2 separate regions of the Homo sapiens genome follow, and region 1 is linked to region 2. Evidence: promoter capture Hi-C in 16 types of primary human blood cells and fetal thymus (Javierre and others, 2016). All regions are on one chromosome and are shown on one strand. The core of a region is centred on a gene start or on the middle of the fragment in contact, and the rest is flanking DNA. Distances in the headings are between cores, read along the strand shown. Region 1 overlaps TNFRSF8 (TNF receptor superfamily member 8). Region 2 holds the start of VPS13D (vacuolar protein sorting 13 homolog D).

Region 1 (5,621 bases), core at 981-3,480, 140 kb after region 2:
TGAGATGTCATTTTTCTCTCCACCCACTCCCCATCAAGGCCCTTTCAGGCTGGAGTCAAAGGGGCCAGAAGAGGATGAGAAGGAAGTGTCTTTCTCCTTGTGGCTGGGATTGTGGGTCCCATGAAAAGTCATAGAACACTGTGGGCCACTCCATTCCAGAGGATAAAAACCACAGCAAGCGGGCCCTGAGAGAACTGAGTGGGAACCACCACCAACCATCAGGCTAGCAAGGGAAGGCCTCATGGAGGAAGGGGTTCCAGAATTGCAGCAGGTAGGGACGGAGGGGAGGGCATCCCACATGGGGACAGGCATGTCCAAAGGCCCAGAAACTAGGCCTGGCACAGTGGCTCATGCCTGTAATCCCAGCACTTTATGAGGCCAAGGCGGGCAGACCACTGGAGGTCAGGAGTTGAAGACCAGCCTGGCCAACACGGTGAAACCCCATCTCTACTAAAAATACAAAAACTAGCTGGGTGTGGTGGCACATGCCTGTAATCCCAGCTACTCAGGAGGCTGAGGCAAGAGAATTGCTTGAACCTAGGAGGCGGAGGTTCCAGTGAGCCAAGATCACACCACCGTACTCCAGCCTGGACTACAGAGACAGACTCTATCTCAAAAAAAAAAAAAAAAAAAAGAGAGAGAGAGAGAAATAAAAATTTGTTGGATGGATGATGGATGGATGGATGGATGGATGGATGGATGGATGGATGGATGGATGGATGGATAGAAAGGTAGATGAGAAAATGGCCAGGAGAGGGGTGGGTGTATGGATGGGGGCGGTGAATGGGAGGATAATTGGAGGGATATGGGAAGGCGATGGTGCTATGGACTGAATTGTGTCCCCCACAAAGTTCATATGTTAAATGTGTTGAAACCCTAACCCCAGTGTGACTGTATTTGGAGATAGGACTTTTAGGAGATAATTAAGGTTAAATGAGGTCATAAGGATGGGGCCCTAATCCAGGGGGATTGGTGGCATATATGAAGAGGGGGAAAGAGAGAGAAAGAGAGAGAGAGATCGATCTTCCCACCATGAGAAGACTGCCATCTGCAAGCCAAGAAGACAGCCCTCACCAGAAACCAAATCCTCCAAAAACCTTGATCTTGGACCTTCAAGCCTCCAGAACTGTAAGAAATAAATGTCTATTGTTTAGGTCACCCAGACTACAGTATTTTGTTATGGCAGCCCCAGCAAACTAATACAGATGGATGGATGGATAGTGGCTAGATGGGAAGAAAAATGGAAAGGGGATGGGAGGGGTGGGTTGGTGAGTGGTTAAAAAGATGGGTGGGTGGGCAGGTACTTGGATGGGTGGGTGGGTGAGGGGGGCAGGTACTTGGATGGGTGGGTGGATGGCCGACCAGTGAAGCACTGAAAAAACCAGGGGACCCACCTAATAGATCATTCAAAATCAACACTAAACCAAAAATAAAAGCAAGAAAGTCCAATAGCATCCAACCCACTACTTTTGCCCATACAATGAATACTTTGAATCATTGTTGGAAATACAAATCAAAATCAAATACAAAAACATCAAATTCTTTCCAAGAATGTTTCCCTCTGTCCTTTGGTGGCCTGAGCACGAGCCTGGTCTGCATCTCATGGGGGAGTTGAGGCCACAAGTCTAGGAACTGACTGACCTGGGTTCCCGCGCAGCTCCAGTGGAATAGCCCTGATGGCCATAACCTGTCACCACCCTCCAGACAGTACAGCTGGGTGGATGGGCCCCTCCGCCCCCACTGTCGGAAGCCCTCCAGACGATGCCCGCCCACTTGCAATGGCCTGCTGTCCTCAAAGCAAGAAGTGGCGATGATGAACCAGACACACACAGACTCCCTCCCACCCTTGCTGGCACAGCTAAAGGCTGATGTCCCCGTGACAATCTCTGTTCCTGGAGGTCAGAGACCACGAGGGCATCGTTATGTCCTGCCCCGCCCATCTAAGACCACTGGTGGTGCCTTGGGACTTTTGATAATAACCACAGGGGCAGAAATGCCTCATGACCCTATTCCAGCTGCTTATCTCCTCGGGCCTAAGCATCATCTACAAAATGGAAGGAACAACACTCACCCCAGCTCCAGAAGGATTTCCTGGTAATTGACTAGAAGTCAATCACGGTGCTGGGGGTGGGGGAACATTCCAGAAAGGGAGCTCTGGTCTGGGAGACTGGTCTCAGAGAAATCTATTGTCCAGGTTGTCCCAGGATAAACACCTGTCCTGAGCTGGGGCAGTCAAGAACGGCAAAGAGGCCAGGCATGGAGGCTCATGCCTGTAATCCCAGTGCTTTGGGAGGCTGAGGCAGGAGGACTAATTGAGCCCAGGAGCTCAAGACCAGCCTGTGCAATATAGCGAGACTTTGTCTCTATTTTAAATTAATATAAAAAAATTAGGCCGGGCACGTTGGTTCATGCCTGTAATCCCAGCACTTTGGGAGGCTGAGGCGGGTGGATCACCTGAGGTCAGGAGTTTGAGACCAGCCTGGCCAATATGGCGAAACCCTGTCTCTACTAAAAATACAAAATTAGCCAGGTGTGGTGGTGCATGCCGGTAATCCCAGCTACTTGGGAAGCTGAGTCAGGAGAATCGCTTGAACCCGGGAGGTGGAGGTTGCAGTGAGCCGAGATTGCACCATTGCACTCCAGCCTGGGCAACAAGAGCAAAACTCCATCTCAAAAAAAATAAAAATAAAAATAAGAGAGAAAAGAAAGAACTGCAAAGGACTTCTGGGCCCCAGAAATGAAGGGTGGTCAGAGGATGTTGACAGCCCAGGCTTTGAGGTCTCTGAGCCCTGGGCCCCAGCCCTGATCATTCCACCATTTCCCAACTGTGTGACCCTGGTCATCAAGGGAAGTAGCTGGAACTTAACCCTGCCAAGCCCCAGTAGCCTCATCTGCAAATTGAGTGTAATAAAGGATCATTGCAAGCACTTAATGAGATGATGCCGTGCATATAAAGGTCTCGGACTCATGGATAGTAAGTGTCCAATAAAGGGCAGCTCTACGTTAAAAATAAAAACTCATGGAGATGGACATTCTGGTGGCAGCAAGAAACACAGTCTCAATTCTACAGCCCTAGCCTTCCGAGAGAGTCCTTGGACTCCGCGACACTAGGAATGACCTGCAGAAAACTGTAGCCAATTATGACGATGACGGTTGGCTCCAATTTCCCCACTCATCAATCCCCCAAGAGGGTCATCAATTGAGGACAAATTTCCCCCCTTCTCCCCACCCCCAACGCCCCCACTCACCCATGGGGCAGCGGTAACAGCACCTCCTGACAGCCTTGTCATAGTAGTGGCTGGGGTTTCCATGACAGGTGTCCTCGAAGGGTCGATCCTGGCAGGTCAGAAAAGCTGGTGAGGCCAGGTGGATCCCAGATATCCATACTCCCTCTGTCCCCACCAGTCCCAGGAGGCCTGAGACGGAGCTTTGTAATATAGGAGAGAAATCAGGACGAGAACTCCTGATTCCACAAACCCACACCGCCCTTACGCTTCCCCCTGCTACTCCAGCTCAGGCCAGAAACTTTAGCGTCTCCCTTGACTCTCTCCTCTCAAACAACCTATCAGCAAATTCTCCTGGCCCTTTTCATACCATAATCATCACCACCTTCACCTGGGGCTAGTCACCATCCCCTTGCCCTGGGATTAACATAATTGCTTCCTACCTTGTCTCTGGGATGGGCCCAACAATACAAATTTCTGGTAAACGTATTTGTTGAAGTCTAACACACCCGTACAAAAAAGTGCACAGATCTCAAGTTACAGCCAACTGCATTTTTACAAGATGAACGCACCAGGCAATCAGCACCCAACTCATCAAATGGGACCTTGCCAGCCCCAGCTCCTCCGTCATCCCCCCTCCCACACACTCCTCCCAAAAGGCTGATTTCTATCGCTCTATTAGTGTTGACTGCTTTTGGATTTTACATAAAGTAGAATTACGCAGTCCATTCCCCTGCAATCGGCCTCTTTAATTCAGCATTATATTGTGAGAATCATTCGCACTGTTGCAAATAACAGTTGCTCATTTCTGTCCATTGCTTTGCAGTATAGCATCACACAAATATGCACAATTTATTTGTCTAGTCTACTCTCTTTTTTTTAATTTGTTGAGACAGAGTCTTGCTCTATTGCCCAGGTTGGAGTGCAGTGGTGCAATCTCAACTCACTGCAGCCTCCACCTCCTGGGCTTAAATGATTCTTGTGCCTCAGCCTGCCAAGTAACTGAGACTACAGGTGTGTGCCACCATGCCCAGCTAGTTTTTGTATTTTTAGCAGAGAGAGTTTCACCATGTTGGTCAGGCTGGTCTTGAATTCCTGACCTCAAATGATCCACCCGCCTTGGCCTCCCAAAGTGCTGGGATTACAGGTATGAGCCACCACTCCGGGCCTGCTCTCGATAGACATTCCACTTTTTGGTTATTATGATAGTGCTGCTGGGAACATTCCTGTACACACGTTTTAGTGTCCAAACGTACACGCTTTTGTTGGCTATATACCTAGGAGTGGAACTGCTGGGGCATAAGGCATGTTCAGTTCTGATAGATTCTCCATCCAGGCTTCTAAAGTAGTCGTACTAGTAGGCACTTCCCTGCAGTGTCTGAGGATTCCAATTGCTCCACATCCTTGTCAGCACTTGGTGGTATCAGTTTTTAAAAGTTTAGCCATCTTGTTGGATCTGTAGTGATACCTCATTGTGGTTTTTATTTGCATTTCTCTGATAAGTAATGTTGTTGGGCACCTTTTCCCACATTTATTAACCATTTAGGCATTCTTTTTTGTAAGATGCCTATTCAGGTCTTGTGGCCATTTTTTTTTAATTGGGTTGTCTGGCTTTTCTTATTGATGTGTAGGGTTCTTTACATATTCTAGATACACGGCTTTTGTTGATTATATGTACTGCAAGTATCTTCTCGCATCCTCTGGCTTGCCTTTTCACTTTCTTTTTGGAGGCTTTTGATGAACAGACATTCTTAGCTTTAATAAATTACATATACTAATCTTTTCTTTTATGGTTAATGCCTTTTTTTGTCCTGTTTAAGAAATATTTGCCCACTCAGTGTCACTTAGATATTCTCCTACATTAACTCCTAGATGAGATTGTTTAATCGTTCATATTCAAGTTTCATTCTTGTACATGGTGTGAAGTAGGGGTCGGAGAGGCTCACTCTTTTCAGGAAGGCGTGGTTTTTGTTTTGTGGGTTTTTGTGGGGGTTTTTTTTGTTTTGTTTTTGTTTTTTTTTTTTTTGAGACAGGGTCTCACTCTGTTGCCCAGGCTAGAGTGCAATGGTGCAATCATGGCTCACTGCAGCCTCAGCCTCCCAGGCTGAAATAGTCCTCTCTTTCGCCTCAGCCTCCCAAGTAGCTGGGGCCACAGGCATGCACCCCCACACCCATCTAATGTTTTATTTTTTTGTAGAGACTGGGTCTTGCTATGTTGCCCAAGTTGATCTCAAACTCCTGAGGTCAAGTAATCCTCCTGCCTCAGCCTCCCACAATGCTGGGATTACAGGCGTGAGCCACCTGGCCCGGCCTCAGGAAGATATGTTTTTACCAAGCCCCCCATGTGTTTCAAGGGTTCTTTGAAAGTGAAGCACCATCATAAGAAAGGATTCAAGA
Region 2 (5,146 bases), core at 1,739-4,238:
AAAAAGAAAAAGAAACTCATGAAACAAACCTGAATAAAGTTGGGGGTGGGGGGAGAATTCACATTCTTTAATGATCCTCATTTAGGCCGCCCAAATTAAATGTCTCAAATTTGTTCATGAGGATCACTTATAAAATAATATACATGGGAGAGAGGCGACAGTGCTTTATCACTGTTCTTAAATGTCCTGGAACTGCATTACTGGTACCTGGGCACCAGATGACGCTGATACAATGAACAATCTTAGTCGATTATTACAAACCCCAAACTCCAGAAATCCTCTGGCTCCAGCCACGGTATTTAGATTTTGTAGGTACTACTGCCTGTTATAATAACTGGTGTTTACCAGTATTACCAAAAAAAAAAAAAAAAAAAAAAAAAGACTAATTTTAGTATTACAAAAAGTCAACATGAGGGAAACTGAGACACAAAAGTTTAACTGGGTTCTGAGATTGCTCAACTAGAAGATCCCAGTGGAAACTGTGAGCCTCAAATCTTGTTCTGATCCACCATGTCAGTCATCAGCCACCCTGCCAGGCACTACAGACTTGCCATGGCACGCATCCCACTGGAGCCAGCCTACTTTCAGGATCCTCTCCAAGCACGCTGCCCCACCTCTAGTGATTCATCTTAGTGCCAGAAGATACACCTATCCCAACTGAGAGGCTGCCATCCAACAACTACCTGAAGCACAAGGCCTCCACAAGAATGAATTCAATCTCCTGGAAAAACTGGCTTTTGTTTGTCAACAATATCTTGTACTTCCAGAGAAGATTAACTTTTATTGGTCAACAGTGACAGCAAAAAGAAAAAAACAGCATTTGGTAAAATATTTGACCAATTTCTTTCCAAAGATTTTTTTTTCTGCAAATGGAATATAAAGATATTTTTTAAGGGTAGAGTTACATAAAACTAATTATTAGCTACATTTGTTTAAAGAAGATGTTATAAGAACAATTTTTTAAAAAAAATGCTCAACAGTCTGAATAAAAGAAACATTTCTCTATTGTAACTTTTTTTTCTGGAGACAGAGTGTTGCTCCCTCGCCCAGGCTGGAGTGCAGTGACGGGATCTCGGATCTCGGCTCACTGCAACCGCCATCTCCTGGGTTCAAGCGATTCTCCTACCTCTGCCTCCTGAGTAGCTGGGATTACAGGCACCTGCCACCATCCCCGGCTAAGTTTTGTATTTTTGGTAGAGACAGGGTTTCATCATGTTGGCCAGGCTGGTCTGAAATCCTGACCTTAAGCGATCTGCCCACTTTGGCCTCCCAAAGTGCTGGGATTACAGGCGTGAGCCACCGTGCCCGGCCACTATTATAACTTGAAAGGAGTAAATTTGTGAAAACCAAATGTGAAACTGACTAATCTTACTATGGGGACTCCAAACAAATTTGAGCAAGAAGCCAAGGTCAGAGTACTCTTTATTTTTGTAGTTATTGCCACTAATTTCGGCCCTAAATGCCAACTCTGAGTGCCAATTACCAATTATCTCCAAATCAAGGGAAACAACTGTCAGTTTGTAAACAAGTTCAGGCCCTACCCTACTTGCCCTAAACGGAAAAGAATGCAAAGCACAGATTTTAAAAGCATGAGTGATTAGCATTGTGAGGCAACCTGGTCAGTAACATTGAGGCCCAAACCAGAAAGCACCCATTATTTGCTCTGCTAAGCATCTAGACCGTGCTTGAGGCCACTTCAAGGATTCCCTGAAGGAATTCAGTGTCAGCAAGGGCCGCCAGACTGGCCAGAGTCCCAAAGTGTTTACACTCCGGTCCATCAGGACTTCTAGGCAGCTGCCTGGCACTGGCACTAACCCCCACCTGGGCTCCCCTACCCAGTGGGGCGGGTGACAGTAGGGATCAGTGCTGAGCCCACGGGCGGGCAGACAGCCGGGCATGACCTTGAGCCAGGCCCCTCCCCTGAGGAGCGGCCAGACCGGGAATAGGAAGGACTGGCAACCGGACCTGGGCGTCCCTCCCCGAGGCGGCCAGGGCTGAACGCTGCCGGCGCCAGGGAGCTCCAAAACCGGGGCGGGGACGGCTGTGCGACCGGTGGCCCCACAGGAACGGCACTGCCCGGAAGGCGACGCTCCCACAACCCTCCCGCCCCCAGCTCTCGGAACCCTCAGCCCCCTCCAGGGGACAGAGACCCCACCACCCAAGTAAAACCTGGAGGGAACGGCGCCGGGATCCCATACCTAGGAGGAGTGGCTGGGCCAGGGCGTGACCCTGGGGGGTAAAAGGTAAAGAGAGGTTTTAGGCCTGATGTCTGGCATCCCACACCTAGGAGGAGTGGCTGGGCCAGGGCGTGACCCTGGGGGGCAAAAGGTAAAGAGAGGTTTTAGGCCTGATGTCTCCACGCGAGAGTGTGACCTCGGGTGGCTGATTAAGGGAGGTGGCTAAGGCATTCTAGAGAACTGACACCCCACTCTTCGGCGTAATGTGGGGGGCTCGCACACTGGGGTCCTGCATTGAGACCAAGGCTCAGGCGGACAGGCGCGGACTGACACCCCCCAATTCCAGGGCGCCAGGCTGCTGGGACCCCGGAAAGTGTGCCGGGGTCCAGCGGGGGCTCGGGCTCCCCAGGACACGGACGTCGGGGTTCCCAGAGGTTCAGCCAGCCCCGAGCCTGTGCTTGGGGAGCTCGCGGGGACTCGGACGCAGGGGTCCCCGGAGGTGGCGGGCTTGGGGCCCGGGGGGAGCAGACGCCCAGGGTTACCCCGAGGGGCTCAGACCGAGGCCGGACGACGGGGCCCCCAGGCTCCTAGCATCGCTCTCCCCAGGGTGGGCCCGGGCCCCCATGTCCAGGCGGAGCCCTAGCGGCGGCCCGCGGGTCCGCGCCGGCCCTGCAGTTCCCGACCCTGGCCCCGCCCGGCACGGAGCCGCTCGGCCCCTACCTGTCGGTGTCCCGGGCCGCCCGCCCCAGCCCGGCGCTGCGCGGCGTTTCCTCCCCGCCGCTCCTCAATGGCGCAGGCCCGCGGCGCTCAGGCCGGCCCCGACCCGACCAATCGAGCGGCCGACGCGCCGGTGCCTGGCCAGCCGAGCGCCGAGTTATCGAGGAGGCGCCCCCTGGCGCCGGCGGCCGCTCCTGCAGTGGTGCGGGCCCCTCCAGGGTTCGCGGACACTGGGGCTTATTTTATAGGTGGGGAAATTGAGTCCCAGGGGAGGGCAGGGCCACAAATGACTCTGGTTCAGACAGCATGGGAACCCAGGATTCTTCCCACCTACAACCACCCTGCCTTCCATCCAAGCGAAAGGTGCGATTGGCCGTCCGTCTGGCCCACTCACCCACAGTCCGTTCCCCACTTCGCAGCCACAGGGGCCTGTTAATTCAGACCCTGCCCTTCCCTGCTTAAAACGGCGTCCCCACCGTACTTCAGTTAAAACCCACCTCCTTACAGAGCTGCCACCAAGGTCCCACTGGATCTGGTCCCTTCCCATTTCAGCCACTTTTTCCCCGGCCGACTCTGCCTCAGCATCCTTCAGTTTCTGCCCCAGGAACTGTACCTTTGCCGTTGTCTCTACCTAGGACCCTTCTCCTCAGACCAATAGAAACACAATGCCAGCCACATAGGCAATCCACATTTACTAGCTAGTACATTTTTTTTAAACGAAAAAGAAGAAAATGAACTTCATTTTAATATATTTAATCCAATATGTTCAAAATATGATCATCTCAACATGTCGCCAAAAGAAAAAATTACTAATACAATATGTTAACTTTTTTATAGTAAGTTTTTGAAATTCGGGTATATTTTACATTTACTGCGCATCTCAGTACAAACTAGCCAGAATTCCAGTGCTCAATACCCTCTTGTGGCCAATCCAGAGCTACAGAATAGCTCTGGATATTCGTATAGCTGACTCCCTCTGGCTTCAAATATTCCACTCAGAGAGGACTTGTGCCTATCTACGGTTCCATTATGAGCTGGGCACAGTGGCTCATGCCTGTAATCCCAGCACTTCAGGAGGCTGAGGCGGGCGGATCACTGAAGTCAGGAGTTTGAGACCAGCCTGGCCAACATAGTGAAACCCCATCTCTACTAAAACTACAAAAATTAGCCGGGCGTGGTAGTGCACACCTGTAGTCCCAGCTACTGGGGAAGCTGAGGCAGGAGAATCACTTGAACCCGGGAGGCGGAGGTTGCAGTCAGCCGAGATCACCCCTCTGCACTCCAGACAGAGTGAGACTCCCTCTCAAAAATGAAAATAAAAATAAAGTTCCATTATCCATTACCCTGTTGTATTTTATTCATGGAACCTAATACTCCCTGAGATTATCTTGTTTGTTTATACATATGTTGTTCTTTCCCCAGTACCTTGAAAACAGAGATTTTATCCCTTTCACAGTGTTTCTTCAACACCTAGACATTGCCTAGCACAGAAAAGACTCAATGAGTGTGTATGAATGAACAGCTGAACACTTCCTCCTTGCATTATCACAAGAAGGGCAAGAGGGAGACCTCAGGCTCATATAAATTAGAAGATGCAGGAAGCAGAACGGCAAGGTTACAATCATGTATTTACCATAATAATTACCAACCCTCATGATGCTAAGCTAATGAGGGTGCATGTTGGGCTGACTCACTCCTGAGCAAGACTGGGGTTCCTGTATGGTGGGATCAACCTCTCAGAATCTGGATGCTGGGTCTCCTCTGGGGCTGAGGTTTGGGAGTAAAACCTGGAACTCCACAGACAGAAGGAGGAAGGAAGGCAGTCCTTCAGAGGTGAAGGACCTCGAAGTCCAGATCACCTAGCACAGACAATTGGCTGTACCTGGGAAGCTTGTTAGAAATGCACATGGCCCAGGCCAGGCGCGGTGGCTCATGCCTGTAATCTCAGCACTTTGGGAGGCAGATGTGGGTGGATCACCTGAGGTCAGGAGTTCAGGACCAGCCTGACCAACTTGGCAAAACCCCATCTCTACTAAAAATACAAAAATTAGCCGGGCATGGTCACAGGTGCCTGTAATCCCAGCTACTCTCCTGGCTAAGGCAGGAGAATTGCTTGAACCCAGGAGGCAGAGGTTGCAGTGAGCCGAGATCTCGCCATTGCACTCCAGCCTCGGCAACAGAGCAAGACTCCATCTCAAAAAAAATCCAAAAAAATACTGCACATGGCCTGGCACCGTGGCTCACACCAGTAA

The links. Contacts are between HindIII fragments. The CHiCAGO score rates a contact against its expected background, and 5 or more counts as called.
Region 1: a fragment that was not itself captured here is called in contact with the fragment with the promoter of VPS13D in region 2 in 2 of 17 cell types (activated CD4 T cells and naive CD8 T cells); the score reaches 6.1 in activated CD4 T cells.

What each region holds. Positions count from the first base shown.
Region 1 is chr1:12,082,179-12,087,799 of GRCh38, reverse strand. TNFRSF8 (TNF receptor superfamily member 8) reads right to left here. Exons shown (of 15, transcript NM_001243.5): 2 at 3,249-3,336. Among named protein-coding and RNA genes, the nearest start is that of TNFRSF8, 22 kb to the right of the region's middle. RefSeq lists enhancers at 1-30, 51-160. The HindIII fragment of the contact is 7,646 bases long and covers 1-5,621 here.
Region 2 is chr1:12,227,872-12,233,017 of GRCh38, reverse strand. VPS13D (vacuolar protein sorting 13 homolog D) reads right to left here and starts at 2,988. Exons shown (of 70, transcript NM_015378.4): 1 at 2,898-2,988. RefSeq lists silencers at 2,929-3,097, 2,634-3,163 and an enhancer at 2,309-3,239. The HindIII fragment of the contact is 6,412 bases long and covers 1-4,786 here.